Regions from separate parts of the Homo sapiens genome. Here regions 1, 3, 4, 5, 6 and 7 are each linked to region 2. Evidence: promoter capture Hi-C in 16 types of primary human blood cells and fetal thymus (Javierre and others, 2016). All regions are on one chromosome and are shown on one strand. The core of a region is centred on a gene start or on the middle of the fragment in contact, and the rest is flanking DNA. Distances in the headings are between cores, read along the strand shown.

The links. Contacts are between HindIII fragments. The CHiCAGO score rates a contact against its expected background, and 5 or more counts as called.
Region 1: a contact is called between a fragment that was not itself captured here and the fragment with the promoter of RPAP3 in region 2, in 1 of 17 cell types (naive CD4 T cells). The highest score is 7.3, in naive CD4 T cells.
Region 3: a fragment that was not itself captured here is called in contact with the fragment with the promoter of RPAP3 in region 2 in 2 of 17 cell types (naive CD4 T cells and total B cells); the score reaches 6.5 in naive CD4 T cells.
Region 4: a contact is called between the fragment with the promoter of DDX23 here and the fragment with the promoter of RPAP3 in region 2, in 4 of 17 cell types (fetal thymus, M0 macrophages, neutrophils and 1 more). The highest score is 11.6, in fetal thymus.
Region 5: a contact is called between a fragment that was not itself captured here and the fragment with the promoter of RPAP3 in region 2, in 1 of 17 cell types (naive B cells). The highest score is 5.4, in naive B cells.
Region 6: a contact is called between a fragment that was not itself captured here and the fragment with the promoter of RPAP3 in region 2, in 1 of 17 cell types (naive CD4 T cells). The highest score is 5.7, in naive CD4 T cells.
Region 7: a fragment that was not itself captured here is called in contact with the fragment with the promoter of RPAP3 in region 2 in 1 of 17 cell types (total B cells); the score reaches 6.8 in total B cells.

What each region holds. Positions count from the first base shown.
Region 1 is chr12:46,364,558-46,367,524 of GRCh38, reverse strand. It overlaps SLC38A2 (solute carrier family 38 member 2), which reads left to right. Exons shown (of 16, transcript NM_018976.5): 5 at 185-258; 6 at 357-449; 7 at 580-661; 8 at 2,336-2,418; 9 at 2,823-2,881. Among named protein-coding and RNA genes, the nearest start is that of SLC38A2, 6.7 kb to the left of the region's middle. The HindIII fragment of the contact is 1,046 bases long and covers 980-2,025 here.
Region 2 is chr12:47,704,544-47,707,696 of GRCh38, reverse strand. RPAP3 (RNA polymerase II associated protein 3) reads left to right here and starts at 1,667. Exons shown (of 17, transcript NM_024604.3): 1 at 1,667-1,745. RPAP3-DT (RPAP3 divergent transcript) reads right to left here and starts at 1,609. Exons shown (of 4, transcript NR_183480.1): 1 at 1,534-1,609. RefSeq lists enhancers at 1,356-1,505, 1,437-1,731, 1,452-1,951, 1,952-2,453 and silencers at 1,646-1,725, 1,796-2,085, 2,116-2,205. The HindIII fragment of the contact is 881 bases long and covers 1,486-2,366 here.
Region 3 is chr12:46,213,776-46,216,867 of GRCh38, reverse strand. The region is part of intron 5 of SLC38A1 (solute carrier family 38 member 1); the gene reads left to right. Among named protein-coding and RNA genes, the nearest start is that of SLC38A1, 54 kb to the left of the region's middle. RefSeq lists enhancers at 298-357, 528-857, 1,419-1,478. The HindIII fragment of the contact is 5,560 bases long and covers 1-3,092 here.
Region 4 is chr12:48,850,734-48,853,869 of GRCh38, reverse strand. It overlaps DDX23 (DEAD-box helicase 23), which reads left to right and starts at 1,707. Exons shown (of 17, transcript NM_004818.3): 1 at 1,707-1,786. It overlaps LOC105369755 (a long non-coding RNA gene), which reads right to left and starts at 2,149. Exons shown (of 2, transcript XR_944925.3): 1 at 2,056-2,149; 2 at 1,321-1,820. RefSeq lists enhancers at 573-782, 1,662-1,851. The HindIII fragment of the contact is 5,632 bases long and covers 1-3,136 here.
Region 5 is chr12:45,980,841-45,983,697 of GRCh38, reverse strand. All of the region lies in intron 1 of SCAF11 (SR-related CTD associated factor 11), which reads left to right. Among named protein-coding and RNA genes, the nearest start is that of SCAF11, 8.3 kb to the left of the region's middle. The HindIII fragment of the contact is 3,959 bases long and covers 1-2,857 here.
Region 6 is chr12:46,263,671-46,266,757 of GRCh38, reverse strand. The region is part of intron 1 of SLC38A1 (solute carrier family 38 member 1); the gene reads left to right. Among named protein-coding and RNA genes, the nearest start is that of SLC38A1, 3.8 kb to the left of the region's middle. RefSeq lists an enhancer at 1-224. The HindIII fragment of the contact is 3,181 bases long and covers 69-3,087 here.
Region 7 is chr12:46,174,323-46,177,071 of GRCh38, reverse strand. No RefSeq gene overlaps it. Among named protein-coding and RNA genes, the nearest start is that of SLC38A1, 93 kb to the left of the region's middle. The HindIII fragment of the contact is 4,589 bases long and covers 1-2,749 here.

The DNA of each region.
Region 1 (2,967 bases), core at 253-2,752, 1.3 Mb after region 2:
TACTGCCAGCCAAGAGACAGTGTTGCCATTCCAGTTAGTAGGAGAGGAAATGCCAGTTCTTCAGGGCATTTTGACACAAATAGGACAAGTTGCACACATAATGTTATTTAAACATCCAGAAAGAGTTGTCTTTAAATATAGCCATGCTTATTTATAACCCTATGCCTTTTCCTTCTCTCACCAGAATTCTCTTGACATTTGTGTCAATATTTTCCCTGTATTCTGTTCATCTCCTTTTGAAGACTGCCAATGAAGGAGGTATGATAGCATTCTTGATTTTTCTAAAACAATGTATACCTATCATTTTATTTCTCTTTTAAAATCCTTGGCTTCATGCTTCTGTCTTCAAATTGTAGGGTCTTTATTATATGAACAATTGGGATATAAGGCATTTGGATTAGTTGGAAAGCTTGCAGCATCTGGATCAATTACAATGCAGAACATTGGAGGTAAGAATTTTTCAAAAGATTATTTGGGTAGACTTTATGCTCATTGTGGAGCACAGAATGGTGACACATGCGTTTTAGTGTCACGTGCCGCGTTTTGCACTTGTAATGGTATAATTTTGTTTTCCTCCAGCTATGTCAAGCTACCTCTTCATAGTGAAATATGAGTTGCCTTTGGTGATCCAGGCATTAACGAACATTGAAGATAAAACTGGGTAGGTGCTAAGTAAGGTTACTCATAAGAAACAATTATAGTCAAAAGTGGTTAGATACATTTTTATCAAAGTTGTATACAAAATGATTAGTTAATTATCCATAAATGTTCCTTTTGAAACTGACCAAGAAGGCCCCCCATCCCCGTAAACTGATTCGAACTTTGGAGAAGGAAAGGCCGAAAGATAGTAGCTAGCCCTACAATTTTGGATATCTTAATTTCTAAAACAGGTTTTCTAGAACTTGCTTTCTGTCTTTATGTTCATACTTAAAGAAGTTATAGGTGTTTTTAATATATATCCTAAGTGAGGACTGAAGCTTTGAATTACATTAAAAATTAATCCGTCTTATTTTTGTAAGTTTGGAATTCTTAAGACTTAATCTGTTCAATGCAAAATACAGGCTGGACATCCCTAATCTGAAATCCAAAACTTTTTGAGTGCCAACATGACACTACAAGTGGAAAATCCACACCTGATCTCGTGACAGGTGTGCAAAATTAATTAAAATACTGTATAAAATCACCTTTAGGCTATGGGTTTAAGAAGGTGTATAGGAAACATAAGTGAATTTTGTGTTTAGACTTCAGTGCCATCTCCAAGATACTTCAAATATGTATGTGCAGGTACTCCAAAGTCCAAAACACTTCGGTCCCAAGCATTTTGAATAAGGGATACTCAACATGTGCCAGAAAATGTTTGGGCATGCTATAGAAACCATTTTCTTCTAGCAAAGTTACTCATCCCAGTGAACTCACAGGTATTTATCTAAAGTAAACATGGGGAAGGATAATTTACTTCCCACCCTATGTGCAGCTCATTACGTCAAAATAGAGAAGTGCTGTTATCTCAGATGTGGCTTTAGAAATTTAATTTTTTAAGCTGATCTTTAAGTGTTGGTGTTCTGCAGAGTGCTTACTGCTGAAGTGAACAGAATTCATGAGGCAATTAGAATTTGAAAATAGTGATTTAGAAGACAGTGCAATTCATGATTTACCTAAAAAGAAAAAGGCTTAGAGGATATACATAATGTTTTCTAAAGTTCAAAAGGGATATTTTTGGCTGTCTTTGGAGTTAAAGGTGGGTCAAGATGTCACAACATACTCTGATAACCTGGAATAAGTCCTGGTTTGGGGGACTGAGTTTTATAATTTTTTTTATGGGGGGGGCAGTTTGCCTGTGCATTTTATGAAAACGTTTCCTCATTGAAATATTTAATAATATTTGCTAACGCATCTGGAAAAAAACTTGTTTTAAAATTTTTTAGTTTCCAGCATTAGAAATTACATGCTAAAGCTGTACCAAAGTTGGTGTACAATTTTTCTGAAAGTGCTTAAAGATAAGATTACTGGCTTAACAAACAAGCTTTGTTCCCTGCATTAGTATCAAGTCTTTGAGAAGCATTTTGTGTTATGAATCAGCTGGCAGCCTTCCCAGAGCAAGTAGTGGGACAAAAGTTACACTGTTTTATACCCGACTTCTAACCTGAGTAAATGTTCATCTAGCACACAAAATTAAAAAGTTATTCCTATCTTGAACAGGGGAAACTTTTTCCAAACATGTCTTTTTTGTGTGTTTGTTTTCATGGTATTCCTATGAAATGAGTCCTGTTAGAAGATGTGTATATTTTTCAGAGGATATTTGTGACTGTTTTGACCTTGTTTCTGTTTTCTTTAGATTGTGGTATCTGAACGGGAACTATTTGGTTCTGTTGGTGTCATTGGTGGTCATTCTTCCTTTGTCGCTGTTTAGAAATTTAGGTGAGCAAACTCATCTCTAAAGAGAATTGAAATGAGCCTCTCACCAGTTAGTTGGGCTTTCTCTGAATAGAAATTAATCAGAATGAAAAAGCCCTAGAAAGTAGAAAGGTATATCTTTGGGACTTACAGCATGCAAAATTTAGGAGCCAAAATATTTAATTGACACTATATGTTGTGCTTTGTAAGAAATAATGCAAATGATAGTTTTTATTAGCTTGGGTTATGACAAGTATATTTAAATAAATCTATAATTTAGTATCATAAGAATTAGAAATTTAGTGCTATACACATACTTTAGTGCCTAAAGTCTTCCCAGCAGAATTGAGTTATTCAGTGGGAAAAAGATATTTGCCTTAAATCTGTTTCATTAAACTAATACTGATTCCTGCCACCCCTCCTTATAGGATATTTGGGATATACCAGTGGCCTTTCCTTGTTGTGTATGGTGTTCTTTCTGATTGTGGTGGGTATGATTTTTTTTTTAGAAAAAATTTTTTATAAGCCCTGCCATGTCACTTAGTTTAACACATGCAAAATAATATATTTTTA
Region 2 (3,153 bases), core at 418-2,917:
GCATTATTTACACATTTTGTTGAAATCCATTTAAAGATAACTGCCAATAGAAGTGGGGAGGTCTGCAAGGAATCTAGGAAAGAACTTAAGGTGGCCTAGGTCTGAGCTCACAGGAGAGAAGGCTGCCATTGCAGGCACAGGTTTTGTGGGACAGCAGGAGCCTCAGAATTAGGTGATGATGACCATCAAAACCATTTGATTAACTTTTCTCACTTTGACTCTATATTCACTAAGCTACTTCTGATTATTGTATGGTTTGAGAGAGAAAAAGAGAGAGAAAAGCAGGGTCACCTAAGGGTCTATGAGGTTTTACTAGAGCAGCCAGCTAGCCCCCTTATCTCTCTTCTCAATCAACTCTGTCAGAATTAATAAAACAAATGTGGTTGCTTTTGTTAAAAACACCAGTAAATCAATATTTGCTTTTAAATACTTAATAAAAAAATTATTAAAAGTCAGTTCTCTATCTCCCTAATACAACCAAAGAATCATTTCATTAGTAAATATTTTGACGTACACTTAATGATTTGACTACTATGATTTTAAAATATAAAGATACCAATAATTAAGCAATGGGAAGGATGTGCTAATGATATGACCTTGTAAGACAGCACTCCAGCCTAGTTCTTCATTGATCAGCGCCTGGGTTAGTGGCTTCCAGCTTCAAATGCACAGCCGTATCCTATGCTTTAAAAAATTCTGATTGGCTTCACTCAAGACTAGTTACATCAGAATCTCTGGGATAGGACACAGAAATCAGTATACACACACACACACACACACACACACACACACACACACACACAGACACAAACACACACACACACACACGTGTATATGTATATACTCCCTAAGTGATTCCAAAGCTCAGTCAAGACTGAGAACCACCGATCTGGATTTTGAGGATATTTGAGGTTACAGTCCTGTTTTAAATGGAAAGTTTCATTTGTTTGTGTTTGCTTCTGTGGACTTCTGCAATTATTTTTGTTTTGCTTTCGTTTAAGAGTTGTCATTGCAACGAAGACTCCCTCACACGGGAAGCAGAAGCAAAAAGTGTTAAAAGTTTCGTTCTTTTTTCTCTGTAAGCCAGAGCATATCTAAAGACAGATTGTAACACTGGCACATGTCAAAGAAAGACTCAGAGATAGATTCACTTAGAAAAGGGGTTTACTTGCAAAAGATGCGAGGAGTTAGACGGAAGGACTAGTTTGCCAACCAGTACTTAAAGGGAAAAAAAAATCCCCTAAAATTACCAGGATTACCGGTTGACAGTAGTCTGTTCATGGTGGAAAAACAGTAACTTTCTCACATGGTTATTATACTCACAAAGGTCAGACAAATTAATGTCACAAAGGTCAGAGATTAGCAAGGTAAATATTAGGGATTAAACTGTTTAAGGGAGTCCAGGGAAATATTCAAGGTTTTATTGTTTTGGAGATCAGAAAATCAGGATGATCCTGCAGTTTTTGGGTTATCTCCTTTTAAGCTTAGTCATATTGGAAGCAGGCAGAAGGCTCAGATATTGCTTTTACATACCCTCAAGCCACCAAGCTGGTTCCATCCTGAGAAGGAAGTCACGAAGCTGACTTCTGCGCGCGCTCAAGCCCAGGCTAAAGGGGGCGGGGCGAGGCCGCGGGGGCTTGTGGGGAAGCGCAGGAGGCGGGGCTTTGCGTGAGTCACTGCCGGGCTCGGCGTGAGTCGCTGCGGGGCTGACGGGGTGGCAGTGCGGCGGGTTACGGCCTGGTCAGGTGAGCGGGCGTTGCGGTTCTCGCTGCCCGGAGCAGCGTAGGAGATCCTTGGGGTGGCCGGTGGGAGGAGGGGTAGCGGTTATGGGTACCGGTGAGGCGGGGCGGGCCGGGGCTGGCGGTGGAGGCGCGCGTTGAGGCGGCGCGTCGGTGTCCAGGGCAGCGGCGTCTCGGGTCGCGCGTTCCCGGAGGGGCTCGCCCCCGCAACCCGGGCCTGCGCGCTCTGCTTTGCAGGCGGACCCTCCACCCTGCTGCGATTTTGCAGTGCTCGGGAAGGCAGAGCCGCCCTCCCGCAAAGACCGAGGTGGGGCCCGCCCCCTTGCGGCGTGGGTGTGCGGTGTTCGCCGGGACAGCGGGTGTGAAAGTGATACCCCCAGCGCTGGAAGTTTTTGATTGCTGGCTCGCACCCCCGCCCCATCGCAGGGTCCCTGGGAGAGTTTTTGGGCCTGCTCGAGCAGCAGCGGTGATGGGTGAAATGGAAAAGCATCTAACCCCCGTCAGCATCTCACTGACTTGTTGCGCTTTTATTCATTTATTTGAGTTCCCAACAAAGCGTTGTACTAGTTTTGTTTTTGAATGAGTTGTGCATATATGGTCAAACATGGACACTGCCTGAAAGAAGCTTAAACCTAATTTAGTTGTTGAGGCTACGAGTCAGAAGACCTATCTGCATCTGCAACTGTCCCTTCTTAGTGAGGTATTTTTCACTGTCCTAAACAAATGTTTTTCTAATTCCGTCTCTCTCCCTCCCACCTTACTTCTCTTCCCTCCGCCTAAAGCTTTGACTCTTCTCCTACCTTTTTGGAGATTTTGCCCCATCACTCATCCTTTTTCCTGTATCTTTTACTTTGTTGCTTTTTCCCCAGACTATGCTCAAGAACAAGTCTTATATTATCAAAGGCAAATGTACTGTAATCTCCATATAATCTCATTTACGTAACTCATTTCATTCCCCCCCCTCCTTTTTTTTTGGTCCCAGGCTGGAGTGTAGTGGGCCCGTCACCGCCCACTGTGGCCTCGATCTCCCGATCCTCCCACCTCAGCCTCCTGAGTAGCTGGAACTATAGGCACCCTCCACCACGCCTGGCTAATTTTTGTGTTTTTAGTAGAGATGGGGATCTCGAAGTGTTGCCCAGGCTGATCTAGGAACTCCTGAGCCCAAGCTATTCCCCCTGCCCCCCAACCTCTGCCTCCCAAAGTGCCGGGATTACAGGCATGAGCCACCTGCGGTTGGCCTTCCACCCTTTAAAAAAAATCTTATTGAAACTCTAAATAGAGGTCAGGCGCGGTGGCTCATGCCTATAATCCCAGCACTTTGGGAGGCCGAGGTGGGCGGATCACTTGAGGTCAGGAGTTCGAGACCAGCCTGGCCAACGTGGTGAAACCCCGTCTCTACTAAAAAAAAAAAAAA
Region 3 (3,092 bases), core at 490-2,989, 1.5 Mb after region 2:
TTTTTTTTGAAACGGCATCTCACTCTGTCACCCAGGCTGCAGTGCAGTGACATGATCTCAGCTCACTGCAACCTCCGCCTCCCGGGTTCAAGCAATTCTCCTGCCTCAGCCTCCCGAGTAGCTGGGACCACAGGCATACGCCGCTATGCCCAGGTCATTTTTTGTATTTTAGTAGATAACGTAGATACGGGGTTTCACCATGTTATCCAGGCTGGTCGCGAACTCCTGAGCTCAGGCAATCTGCCCACCTCTGCCTCCCAAAGTGCTGGGATTACAGGTGTGAGCCACCGCGCCTGGCCAGGATTCTTCTTCTGTGTCTCTTTCCTCACCACTTAAGTCTTCCATTGGCATTGCTTCCCTAGGCCAGAAACCACTATTCCTGTCCTCGAGCCTCACTGAGAGCCTCTGGTCCCTCACTTAAACCTTCTACTCATGCCCTACTTCCTGTTTCCACTGGCTGGCTGTCACACTTGCCTGGAAAACCCCTGAAGCTGTGCTTTCCAACCACACAGACACGGCGACACTAAGTTCTTGGTCTGCATTCTCAGTTGGGTCCTCCCCACAGTCCAGCCCCTCCATCATTTTCAGCTAGTGTTCTAGTCTCTTCAACAATGTTTTCAAATCTTTATACAGGTATTTCCCCTAGAATAATTGGGGGTGGGGATGGAGAAGCAGGGAGAGTTGGTGGAGATGAAAGATGAATGGGAAAGTGCAAGGTGAAGATGCAGGAGGGTTGAGACCCTTGAGAAAGGTAGACTAGAAGTAAGAGGTAGAAGAGGGTGAGGGAGAGGCCAGCAATAGCAGAAAGGAGTGGAGAAAGATAGGCTAGCCCAGAACCGATGCATTTCCTATGGTTTGTCTAAGTTCCTTGTCCTGGATTTTAAATTTTTCTTGTAAATACTCTGCCTCAACAAGCAGTATGTCTGTAAGTTTTGGAGTGAGGGCTGTGGGTTATTAGGAGACAGTGATAGATCAAAGGAGGACTAGTAATAAAGACCACTTTTACCCCAGCTCAAGGAGTTTTTATATGTACTAGCCTGCTTGTTTAATTGAGGATAGTAAAAGTTTTATACTTCTAACTGGATCTAGAAGAGGAAGAATTACATAGTTTAGTAAGCCTCAGATCCCTTTTGGAAGGAGTGAAACATGGGGGAGGGGAGGTTGAAAATAGAATTTAAATATATGTCCTGCTGAAGTAAATAATGCTTGAGGTGGGCAGATCACCTGAGGTCAGGAGTTTGAGATCAGCCTGGCCAATATGGTGAAACCCGTCTCTACTAAAAAATACAAAAATTAGCTGGGTGTGGTGGCATGCACCTGTAATCCCAGCTACTCAGGAGAGGCAGGAGAATCACTTGAACCTGGGAGGCAGAGGTTGCAGTGAGCCAAGATTGTGCCACTGCACTCCAGCCTGGGTGACAGAGCAAGACTCTGTCTCAAGAAAAAAAAAAGTAATGCTTGAGGAAGTCAACCAAAGGAAGCAGATGAGATCTTACTTTTCACACTGGAAGCTAGTCAGCATCCCACAGCAATGAGAATGATTCAGTTGTAAGTGCTTTTCGTCACTGTCACCTTACTTGGGTAGCCGTGGGGTCTGTGTTTACAGGTAACTGAGCTGCAGTGTTGGCACAGCACCTCACCACAGACAGTGTGGCGGGTGATGCACAGCACAGTGTGGTGAGAAACAGAAAGAACTGGAATGTATACACCACAAGGCCAGAGCTTAGGGCTTTCAGTTTTGCTGCTTCCAGGGAGGTCAGTGGACCAGTAGCAGCAGCAGCATCTGGCAACTTGTTAGAAATGCTGAATCTCAGGTCCCGACCCATCCATTTTAACAAGATCCTAATTTGCACACACGTTAAAGTTTGAGAATAGCTGCTTTCAACTTTGCAAGGGAGAGTCATGCTAGGGAGGGCTGGCAACGGTTCTCTCTTTTTTTGGGAGGAATGGGTCCTGGAGAAGTTGAAAGCACTCAGCTGCAAGGCAGCCCCAAACACCCCCATCTGAGCTATTTCTGGATCTGATGCAGTGACGGCTGCTTTACCTCCACCCCTACCAAAGGTTCTGATGCTGTGTTGGGAGGATGTCATATGATTTGTTGCTGTGTAGCTAGGCTTTTAAAATATAGTCTTATCTCCCTTAAAGTGTCCTGAGGTTGGTTTTTGTTTGTTGGTTGTTTTTTTGTTTGTTTGTTTTGGGGTATACTTTATATACAATAAAATTCTCCAATTTAAAGGGTGAGGTTTGTTAAATTTACCCAAATACAGTTGTGAAATCACCACCACAATCATGGTATAGAACATTTCAATCACATTAAATGTTTTGGTTTTATTTGTTGTCACAGCTTTCCACTTTATTAGCATATGGTACTTTTAAATATGAAAATAATAACATTATTCATATAATCTTTGGGTAAATTATGGAAGACCAAATAATTACAATTCTGTTAATATGATTCAAAACATTGACAAATAACGTTTTTCAAATCGATGTTTAGATGTTCGTTGTTTAAAAGATGAGTCAAAATTTTCTTGCAGCAAAAAGAGTAAATATATCTAGGACCACTGTGACAAATCTTTTTCATTTTTTCTTTTTTTGCTCATGCCACTTTGTCTAAGATACTCTCAGGAATCTGTTTAAAAATCATGGAAAGCAAGAGTATCCCCAGAGGATTAGAAATAGGCTAATTTAATCCCAACTTTCAAAAATGGCAAAAAGTAGATGCCAAGGAATAGTGTAGAGAAAATTATTAAACAGCTTGTTTATGTGCAATGACTGCAGAAAAGATTACTCTGTAGAAACCAACAAAGTTTTTCTAAATAGTCACTAAACTAATATCATCTTTTGAGATACAGTGAGCTAAGTAGATCATGGGACTATCTTCATAGAGGGAGTCTTGATTTTAGTTAAGATATTTGGCATAGTCTCACATAACTTGCCAATGAGGTTCTAATGTTTCTAAATTCACTGATTCTCAGCGAAGACTCTGTTATGTGTGTGTTTGATGTTGAAGGTAAATAGGTAAATAGTTGAATTAAACTGTCGTTGTCTGTCTTACAGTCTAGTGATGGAGACACATAATAAAGCAATAA
Region 4 (3,136 bases), core at 458-2,957, 1.1 Mb before region 2:
TTTTCTTTTCTTTTTTCTTTCTTTCTTTTTTTTTTTTTTCCAGTCAGGGTTTTGCTCTGTCACCCAGGCTGTAGTGCAGTGGCACGAGCATGGCTCACTGCGACCTCGACCTCCTGGGCTCAAGCAGTCCTCCTGTCTTGGCCTCCCAAAGTGCTGAGATACAAGCATGAGCCACCTCACCTGGCCCATTCTTTTAACTATGTGGCCTTTGAAGGCATAATTACTCTTTCTGGGCCACAATCTCCTTACCAGTAAAATGGAGATAGCACTCATCTCATACTGCTATGAGAACTAAGTAAAACAAATAAGGTAGGTTAAGTGTCCAGCCCAGAGCTGAGCACTTAGAAGATTCTCAATAAAAAGTGGCTGCAGTTTTTGAAGATTCTGGCCTACCATGGTTGGTCTGATTCTTAGTTTAATCTGTGAATCTGTGAGTCGAGCGCCCTCTCGTGCTTTTGTGGTGAATTACACCTAACAGATCTCAGAGCTCTCTTCTTTCCCTTGCGTTCTCTCTGGAGTAGAAGCTGGGAGGTGAAAGGCTGCAGGTTCTAAGAGAAGTGTGTGTCTCCGAGGGTTACTTTGGGCCATTGTACGTGATGCTCAGGGCTTTAGGATTACTTGGGTCTATCCTGAGGCTCTGCTTGAGAGCTTGGGCATATTCAGAGAGAAAAGGCAGACCTACAGCCATGTGGAATTGAAGCAACAAACCTGCTGCTGGCAAAATGGGAAGGGAGGTCCGAGATACTTCTGGTTATCTAAACCGTTTCCGCAACTGCAATGTTTTGTTTTGTTTTGAGGGAAAGAGTTATGAACCCATAAGACCAAAGAGAAACACAAAGTGAACTTACGATTTGAGGTTAAAACAACAACAACAACATCAACAACAACAACAACAGCAACAACAAAACTCAGTGGAAGACTGAAGTAGGGGAATCTGGGGGAAGAAAGAAGCAAAAATACCAAGATAGCTCAACAATTGGTCACATTCCAAAGGGCAAGAAATTGAGGAAACCAGGGTTCCATCTGGAATGTTGAGAAAACAGGTGCTAGAGCCCAGGAGATACCATCCTTCCGGGAGGACTTTAGAGCCCATTGTGTGGGCTCATTTGGAGCTGTAACAATAACTGGGGGTTGTTATGGCATTCACCCGGCTGCAGGGGCCAAGGTTGCTAAAACGTCCTCCTAAGCCTGGGATAGTTCCACACACAATGGAGAACTGCATCACCCTCCTTGTGAACCTACTCCGGTAACCTGATCTTTAGTTTGTCCAACTGTAAAATGGGGCTAGCCCCATTCTCACAGAATTATTATAAAAACCGCTTTTCCACGAATGGTATTTATTGTTACTGCGGTTGTTAGCTATAATTACGTACTACAGATATCTCAGGAAGCCCTTAAATTCCTCCACTGTAAGCCACGGGCAAGGACAGTCATAGACCGTAGTTTCTAGGAAGACCAGCCGATTCCAAGAAGGGTGCTCGGCGGGAGAACCTAATGCCGAAAGCCTATTGGCGAAAAACTCTTCCTTCCCGGACGCTAACGTCTGGCAAACCACATTGCCCGGCAGACCCCGCAGCCTGGGGCCGGCGCTCAAGTCATGCATTCTGGGATTGGTAGTTTCCAGGCCTCAGTGTCGGCCTGTGCCGCCCAGCTCCAGGAACTCGCCTTCCCAGCTTGCCTCGCGGCCGGGGGGGTGGGGGGTGTTCATCTCCGCGACCAGGAAACGGGAAAGATGGCGACGGCTCCGCGACGTTGAGGCCGCGTTGGGCGGTTCAGACTCAGGGTGGTGAGTCCCGGGCGGTGGAGGCGGTTCCCACGAGCTTACAGAAAGGGCTAGAGTCAGGGCACGGCGGTGGCCCCTGCCTCCTGGATGAGGCGGGAAAGAACGCCTCAGAGAAGGGGCATGAACCCGGGAAGCTCGGGCGGGCTGGAGTGAAGGGGCGCGGGCCCCAGGGGTAGTGTTGGCTCCTCCGGGCACAGGCCACGTCCCTGCACGATATTTTCCTCCCAGGACTCTGCCTATGGGCACAGCGCCTCTGATACCCCCAGTCTGACCTTATTCTTTCATGCTTAAAGTAGCCTTTGGTGCAGCCAAACTGGAACTCTGGCTTTTCTCTCGCAGTCAGTCCATGTTTTCCCGCCTCTGCGCCGGCCGTATTATTTCTTTTGCCGGGAATGACTTCTTTTCCGCGTCCTTAATTACATATCTTAAAATTCTACTTATACTTAAAAGCTCAAGCGTCACTTCCTCTTCCAAGCCTTCCACATCACCTTTTACAAGTGAAAGGAAACGCCTTTGAACACCTGTATTACTACATCTGAGCCTTGATACTCTTCTTGGTATGTGTCTCATACCCCCTATTGTTCTTTTTTTTCTTTTCTTTTCTTTTTTTTTTTGAGACGGAGTCTCGCTCTGTCGCCTAGGCTGGAGTGCAATGGCACGATCTTGGTTCTCTGCAACCTCCGCCTCCCGGGTTCAAGCGATTCTCCTGTCTCAGCCTCCCGAGTAGCTGTGATTACAGGCGCACGCCGCCACGCCCGGCTAATTTTTTGTATTTTTAGTAGAGACGGGGTTTCACCGTGTTCCCCAGGCTGGTCTCGAACTCCTGAGCTCAGGCAATCCACCTGTCTCGGCCTCTTAAAGTGTTAGGATTACATGCGTGAGCCACCGCGTCCGACCTCATAACCCTGTTGTTCTAAACACTTCCTGTGAACAGAATTTATTTTTGTAACTCACATAGCACCTAGCACTGTGCCTTGCGTACAGTAGATGCTTGTTAAATACGTCATTGAGTGAAAAAAAAGAATGTGCCCCTGCCCTGCAAGAACTGAGGACCTGAAGATCTGGAGGTTTGAGAGGAAGGCTGCTGGGAAGCATGGCCAGAGTCAGCCTGGTTATTTGGCCCTTGTGATAATAGAACCTGTAATAAAAGTTGCCTGTATTTACTGTCTTCTTCTCATTTTTCATTCTCTTCCAAACTCATTCCACTCAGGCTTCCATTCCCGCAATGCAACTGAAACAGCTCTTGTCAAGGTCACCAATAATCTCCATTTTTCCAAATTCAGTGGTTACTTCCCTGTCCCTTATTCCCTCTCCACTTCGGTGGTACTTGACACAGTTGACCCCTCCCTCCTT
Region 5 (2,857 bases), core at 185-2,684, 1.7 Mb after region 2:
CCTAGATGACTGATTGTCACCTTTTATAGGTGATCTAATCAGTATCTCAATTTCCTCACCTAATTTTTTAATAACATTTATCTAAGTCCAGTGGTAATAGCAGCTAACTCTGTCTCTGTTCATACTCTTAAGTTAGCTTTGTTTAGTGGGTGATTTTTAAGCCTTTTTAATGCAGTGTTCTGTTGTTCAGTATTGACGGTGTTTTAATTTTTTAAATGTATCGTGTTCTGGTATTTTGAGGATTAAATGTGGAAAGGCATGCCAGAATGTGTAGTTCATTACGTAGTATATTGTAGGCATTCACTCTACCCATAGTTCTGAACTCCAGGTTTGTTGATATCTATGTGTCTATTAGGTCTGTGCCCTAGGGGAGCTTAGTCCTAATCAGGCCTTCTTTTTTGATATCTAGTCTTCTTTCCATTTTCTCCTAACTAGTTTCTCGTACTTTCCATCTCTCCACCACTGCCACCTTTCTGCTACTACATTAAGCTCAAAATCCCCAATTTAAACATCTTATAAACCACTTTCAAAACAAATAAATGGGAGAGAGATAGACTTGAAGTCCACCTAAGGAAACACAACGTAAGTCCTAATTGGACTTAAGAACATTAACTTTTTGCACTTTATTATCATTATTTTTCTTTACTTGCCTCAGTCGTTAGTTACTCCCCCACTGGTACATTTAAAAAAATGTCTTAGAAACTCTTTGCCTATTTCTCACATTTGGCACTTGGCATATGCTATCTTGTTCATCTTCTGTATCCTATGTCTCCAAGTCTACTCCTTGTACCGGGAAGTGATACAGTATCTTAATCCGTCTTTATATTCCAATACCAGGCTCAGTACCCTGACCACAGTAGTTATTTAGCAGCTTAAAGTAAACCAAAACAGAAGTACAAACATGAAAGACAGCGGCCAAAACAACACTGTTATAAAAATTCTCTGGGATCAATGAAACAGTCTACAAATGATAGGTTTTGTTTGGTTTGTTTTGAGACACAGTCTCATTCTGTCACCCAGGCTGGAGTGCAGTGGTACAATCTCGGTTCACTGTAACCTTTGCTTCCCAAGTTCAAGCAATTCTCCTGCCTCAGTCTCCTGAGTAGCTAGGATTACAGGCGTGTACCACTACACCCGGCTAATTTTTGTATTTTTAGTAGAAACGGTTTCACCATGTTGGTCAGGCTGATCTCGAACTCCTGACCTCAAGTGATCTGCCCGCCTTGGCCTCCTGAATTGCTGGGATTACAGTCATGAGCCACTGTACCCGGCCCCGATAGGTGATTTTTTAATGTAAATATACGTATAGCACTATTTTGTATGCCTAGATGGCTTGTCAAGAAGAATGATTCTGTAAGCTGTTATAATGGGGAATAAATATTAATGACTCAAAAAATTTATAAGCTATCACTCACCTGAAAACTTCATCATAGAAAACCCTTCAGATAGGACAGTTTTAATGTAATAGGTCATATTTCTTTAGAAACTGTTGTGCATGTCCAGTTACTTAAGACATCAGCTTGAGTAATATGAGGGAGATGGATGAAACGAAATAGCTTCATTGTTTCAAAACTGCCACAGAACTAGATATAATTAAAACTGAATGGAGGGTAAACAAATCCACTTAGACTCTTTAAAAAGGTTTAAAATATAGTTCATATTAATATAGCCATTCCAACCATCGTTTATTATTGTTTGCATTATTTGGCATATCTTGTTCTATATGTTTAACCTATCTTTATTTTTAAAGGGAGTTTCTTGTAGACAGGCATATAATTCAGTCTTTCTTTAAAATCCAGTTTGATAATCTCTTTTAATTGGTGTGCACGATTATTTACATTATTTACATTTAATATAATAATGTTTGTTCCTCTATTTTCTTCCTTTTTTGGGAGGTATGGGGAGAGACAAGGTCTCACTCTGTCCCCTGGCTGGAATGCTATGGGATGGCCATAGTTCCCTGCAACCTTAACCTCCTGGGCTCAAGTAATCCTCCTGCCTTAGCCTCCAGAGTACCTAGTACTACAGGCATGCCACCACACTCGGCTAATTTTTTAAATTTTTGTTAGAGATAGGTGAACAGTCTAGAGTTAATCTGTAACTAGAATAACTTGGGGAAATGAGATAAAAAACAAAAACGTATTTATTCAAGGATGACGGATTATATTTATTCCTCAGAAAATGGGAGAATGATGTTTCGGTTTTTGGATCTTTTTGGGAGACAGGAATCTCAGAGCTGTAAGGGGCTATTTGTTTAGAGATTATTTTGATACAACTTTAAGGGACTTGGATTAATATCAGGGTTATTTCTTTGGCATGGATTTGTAAGACTGTTCTCTACATCATCACATCATTTAGAATAGTTTGTTTTAGGGATGAGTTCATTCATCGTTTTTGACTCTTCATCCCTGTTTCCTTTCTCATTAACATGTCTTACTGATATACTTTTATGGTGTCGAACAAATCATATCCTGTGTTAGTCATGGTGAACATAGCAGAAGACTGGCCAGTTAGAAATTTCACTTGAAAAGGTAGTTGGCAGTTTGTAGCATTTATAATAAGATTACATTTAGGTGATAATCCGAATATCACTCAATCTCTAACAGCATTATTTTGGTCTGAGTTGTCTCTTCCAAAAACCAACTATATATACTCTTTGACAATATTTCTTTATTTTGTTAATTTATAAATCACCTGCCCTGTTTCCCTAAAACAAACTATTCTAAATGATGTGATATATTAGGTTATGTCCTAAGACATTGATAACTAGTATCTTACTAATATCAGTTTAGTTTTTCCTATTAGTGTATTTTGGGAGGAGGAACACTCCTCCCAAACACAGGTATTTTGGAACCTG
Region 6 (3,087 bases), core at 410-2,909, 1.4 Mb after region 2:
TTTTCTACAGAGGGCTTACTGTGCGACTGGCAGCAACTAACAAGATTTGTTTCACCTTCTATGAAGCTTCCGTTCTCAGGGGGAAATAGACTATATAAATGTAGGCATATACATTTCAGGTATTCTTAGTGCAATGAAGAAATAAAACAGGATCATGTGATGGGGGAGGATGCTTGAAATAGAGTGACTCACCGGGAGGGGCGGTGTGAGGGTATAACATTTGTCCTCAGACCCGAATGATGAAAAGGGATCAGCTATTTCCATAATTGAGGGAAGAAGGCCAGCGGAAGGAACAGGAAGAAGGAACAGCAAGTACTTATTGCACTCTTCTTTGACTGTAATATAATTGAACAGATAGATGAATAGATTTTAAAGGTGTTTTGGAGCTTTAAACCTATATGTATGTTGTTTATGTATATTTTTTATGATGCTTCATGAATTAAGGCCATTTAATGAAAGGAGCACCATGTTTCTGATATCTGACTATTGCTACTCTTTTCTTTACTCTGGGTGATGCTTGTGGACAAAAACCGATTTTACTCATTGTTCCTCTAATGTCCAGCACATAGTACCTGCTTAATAAATACTTGTTGGATCGAGACCTTGAGACCTTGATCAGGCCATCTTGTTCATCTCTTTGTGATATTATTGGCCATCCCTTCCGTTCTATATCTCATCTGTTCCCCTTCTCCTAAGTTTGAAAATGAGAGTCTTTTTCTTCTCTGCTTCTCCTTCTCGTACTGCCCTTCCCACTTTGAGCAGTGACCAGGCCCTTGAAAATACCCCTCACACTTGTCCTCTTGTCTCCATTTCCACTGCCCAAGTTCAGGTCCCTGTCACCTTACCTAGACTTGGAGACATATGAAACAGATATAGAGGTGCCTTGAACAACCTAGGGGCAGTGGGAGTGGGCGGTGGAGAAAAATGCAAGCACAACATATGGTTAAGAGTGAAACAGCCAGTTACTGAGGTGGAACAGCTTTCCTGTTGGTCTCTCCTCCATATCAAGTTATGCTCCCCTAATTAAATCTCCATTCTTTCATGAGGTTTATATTTCTAAAATTCAGTTCACATTTTGTTAAAGGACCTTGCTTTTAAAAACCTCTGAGGGTTTCCATTGCACACAAATACAGTCTAAATTCCTTAGCCATACACTTAGGACCCTTCACAATCTGCCTTCTCATCTCTTTCCAATTTTTTCTCTTGATATTTTCTTTCTCACAGTTCACCCTATTCCCTCCCTATCACTTTTCTGCTTCAATATCTGTGTGGATTGGATTCCAGTCCAGAATGCCTACTGAAATCCTGTGTACTTGTGATGGCCTATCCCTGATGCCACTTTTCCACCTCTTGGGAGAAGTGTTCACTGATCACCTCACTGGCATTTTCATAAGTATTTGTTTATCCTTCACATTTTGGACTGTTGTTACTCCAGGTGATGGAAGGTGGTGAATAGGGGCTTAGGCTCTGAGTCAAATATAAATATCAGGCCTCAGCTTACTCACCCAGGAATCTTGGGCAAGGTGTTTGGCATCTCTAAGCCTCAGTTTTTTCTTTTGCTAAATGGGAATGATGATGCTGGTGGTAGTGTTGGTGGTACCCACTTTACTGAGTGATGGTAAAGATTTAATGAAGATAATGAATGTGAAGTATTTGGTATAGTGTTAGCATTCCATATGTATTGAATTAAACATATCTACCAGAGGAGGGAGAGAAAGTTGATCAGTAAAGTTCCCTTTACCTCTGAAATTCTGTGACTATGTAATCTTTTAAAAATACTTTTCTGAAAATATATCTTGATGGAAACTACCTGGATCTTTTTAGTCTCTGGGAGAATATACATCTATGAAAGGTGGTGAGGAGGTAGGAGAAGTATGTGCACAGAAGTACTTTGAAGAATGTGTGACAGACTTCGAAAAAGACATCTTGTATGCAAAGGCACACAGAGTAATATAATGGACTGTGGAGACTCAGAAGCCAGAGGTTGGAAGGGAGGATGCCAGATAAAAAGCTACAGATTGGGTACAATGTGTACTACTCAGATGACAAGTGCACTAAAGTCTCAGATTTCATCACTTTCAATTCATTTATATAACCACCAAAAATCACTGATACCCCAAAATCTATTGAAATAAAAAAATTTTAAGTAAAATTAAAAGATTAACTTCAATAACCTAAAAAAAGACACTGACCCTAGATTTAAAATAAGATTTTAAATTTAAAAATATTGTTGTACTTATTTCTGAAAATTGATCACATATTTGTTTTCTAGTGATAACCTTACTAATAACAGAGGAGTTCCCCTAACCATGTTACCTTCCCAATCACTGAATTCCTCTACTATTAGTAAGTAACTCTGTTTCAAGTGAGGTTACAATGTGTCTTTGGCAATAACTAGCTGGGTACCCTTGAGCAACTCATTTCACATTTTTATGCCTCATTTTCTCATCTGTCCAATGCTAATAATAGTATCAGTGCTGCGTACCTCAGAGTTGTGAAGATACAATGAGAGCAGAGCTGAGAAAGTCCTTGAACAAGTTTAAAAAAACTATTCAAGATGATAGTCATCTGGCATTAAGCATGCTGCTAATCTTCAGGGTCAGGTGATGGTTTTAGATTAGTGAGTCTCAGAGCAGACTTCACATTAGACTCATCTAGGGTGTTTTAAAAGCTGTCAGTGCCAAGACTTCAACTCCAGAGATTCAGATTTAGTTGGCCTGGGATGGAGCCCAAATATGGGAGCTTAGAAAATATCAGGGGTGATTTTGATATGCATTGGTTTAGATTTAAAGCAAGGAAAACAAAACAAACATCAGAAATTAAATGAGGACCTCCATATGTTGCTTGACAAAGTCTTAGTCTTAGTAGTGTGAAATTATGAGCTTGACTGACTTTTCCCCCTGATTTTACTAAACCAACCATTTGTTGACATCATGGAGCCACAGCCTCAGGTTACAGTTTATAACCTGAATTTTCCCAGGCATAGACGCCTGTCCAGTGATACAGCCAGAGCCACATGAAGATTTAATGTGTAGATCTCAGTTTCCATCTCTTAGGAATGGCGAAGGTTGGAAAAGAAAGCGACAA
Region 7 (2,749 bases), core at 250-2,749, 1.5 Mb after region 2:
TTTATGAATTTAGGACAGCTTTAAAAAATAATTATGCTAGGGCCCTACCTCAGACCAATTAAATCATAATCTCTAGTGGTATAGTCAGAGATATTTTCAAAATCTTCTAGGGTGGAAGGTGGGAGGAGATAGAGGATCAGGAAAAATAACCAATGGTTTAATACCTGGGTGACAAAATAATCTGTACAACAAACCCAAGTGACAAAACTTTACCTATGTAACAAACCTGCACATGTACCCCTGAATTTAAAAGTTAAATTAAAAAAATTATTTTAAAAAATTACTCCAAACTTAAGATGAAGAGAAGATATAATATGAAACTGGGAAATTATTTACCAGTCCTAGCCAAGGGTTATTTAATTATCTAGAGGAATGTACTTTTGTTTGTTCAGATTTTTATCTGGTAGAGATGCAAATGATTTCTGCCCAGTAGAAAAATAACCTCAAAGGTTTGTATCTAACTTAACAATCTTGTTATATTTTTCTATTATTTCTATATGCCTGTAAACATCCAGTTCTTCAAAATGCTCTGAATTTTTTTTTTTTTTCTTTGAGACAGGGTCTCACTCTGTCACCCACGCTGGAGTACAGTGGCTAGAACACGGCTAACTGCAGGCCTGAGTTTCCGGGCTCAAGTGATCCTTCCACCTCAGCCTCTTCAGTAGCTGGGGCCACAGGCACACACCACCAGACCTGTCAATTTTTTTTTTTTTGTAAGGATGGGGTCTTACTAACTTACAAGAAGATATAAGAACAAGCAATCCTCCTGCCTCTGCCTCCCAAAGTGCTGGAATTGCAGGTGCAAACCACCACACCTGGCCTCAAAATGTTCTTTGAACCAGCTTTACCATCCTACTTCAGATTGCCTGTGTGTGGCCTTTGTCTTATTATTTTTGTTAAGAATACTATCAGCCAGGTGCAGTGGCTCATGCTTGTAATATCGGCAGGAGGATCGCTTGAGCCCAGGAGTTTGAGACCTGCCTGGGCAACAAAGTGAGATCCTGCCCCTACAAAAAAATATATTTTTTAATTAGCCTGGCATGGTGGTATGCACCTATGGTCCCAGCTACACGGGAGGCCAAGGCAGGAGGATGGCTTGAGCCCAGGAGGTTGAAGTTGCAGTGAGCTGTATTCACATCACTGCATTACAGCCTGGGTGACACAGTGAGACTCTGCCTCTTAAAAAAAAGGAAAAAAAGAATACTATTCATAGGATGTGAAATTCTCATCTCTGTTGTGATATTTGATGTTGTCATACTTGCTGCCCCCATGGTATTTATTATCTTTGATCATCAGCTTTTTATTTTATTCATGATATGGGTACCGTGGACATAGAGTAATTTTTTGATATATTCTTGATGAGCAAAAAATGTCTTATATGAAGATAAACATTGCAATTCCAATTTTTGGAAACAATAGGCAGGCCAAACAGAATGTGTCTGAGAGCAGGACAGGCCCCTGACCACCACCAGTTGGTGACTTTTTCTTCAGTCAGTCACATTGGAAGCAAATTAGATCTGTATGAACAGCTCAGCACTTGGAAATCGGGCATCAGAAAACATGTTATATACCATCCCTACCTTTTGAAAGGATAGCTCTTCTAAGTAGTTTAGAAGCAGTCCTTTCTGCCTGGGGAAGCCGCTTGCTTTTACTTTTCAAACATCAAAGTTTTTATTTGAGGTAAAGGTTTATTTTCCTGTGGAATACAGATGGTTTGGAACAGCATGAAGGAAAAAGTTAGATCTACTTTCCATTCATAGTTTTCAAAGACCCTTTTGACAGTCAAATGATGTCCTTATTCCTGGATCTGTTCCCTGAGAGATTTTCAGTATAGCCCACTATGTGATGTACATGCCGGGTATTCAGCATTTCCCCGCTTACTTAACCCGTGACTGACAGGTGTAAATGGCACAGCAGCCCTGCCACTGATGGGGACGGTGTGGAGATGTGTTTGCGTGTCTGCACTGCTCCCCCGTGGGATGGTGCCAGTTTCCCTTTGGGTTTTGCTGGATACTGCGTCCTTCCTTGTGTGGCTCCTTCCCTTCCCAGCCTCACTCCCTGACCCTCTGTGAATTCTTCTTGGGAACACTTCCTAATAAATCACTTTCACGTACATTCTGTATTGGGATTTGCTTCTGGGAAACCCAACCTAATACGTTAAGTGTGCCTCAGCTCACAGTACCTATAGGTTATATTTTAAATAATCATTTTCCCCCTATTGTTTTGATCTTTCTTTAAAAAGTAAAATAAAATCCTGGTTATGTTTTTTGCCTTTTTTTTTTTCTTTTTTAGTATGGGGTTGGGGCAGGCCTTAGCTAAGTCTTGTGGACCTTCCTCCCCGTGTTCAATATCAAACATATAGATAATGCTCCTTTTGGAATAAAATTCCCCTACCAATCTCCCAAGGTTCTTTCTCTGAATGACATAACCACATAAACCACGTAAACAGCATATTCTGTCTGCAGTGTCTGTTCACCTGGGACCTAGCATGGGATTTCCAAACTGTTCTCAGGAACACCCCATAGTTCCCCTCTCAGACTTCCCTGATAACTCTTGCAGACCACATCCCCTTTTCAAATAATGCTCTCAGGGGACACTCACTGCATTGTTTGTGTGTGCTGTGTGAAATGAATGGCAAATACTTTACTACCCTCACATTTGAAATGACCGACTAAATAATCGATTCTTCGAGTAGTAGGTCAGTAAGTCGTATCATGTGATTGTTCGCAATTCCTCCAAGGCTCCACGA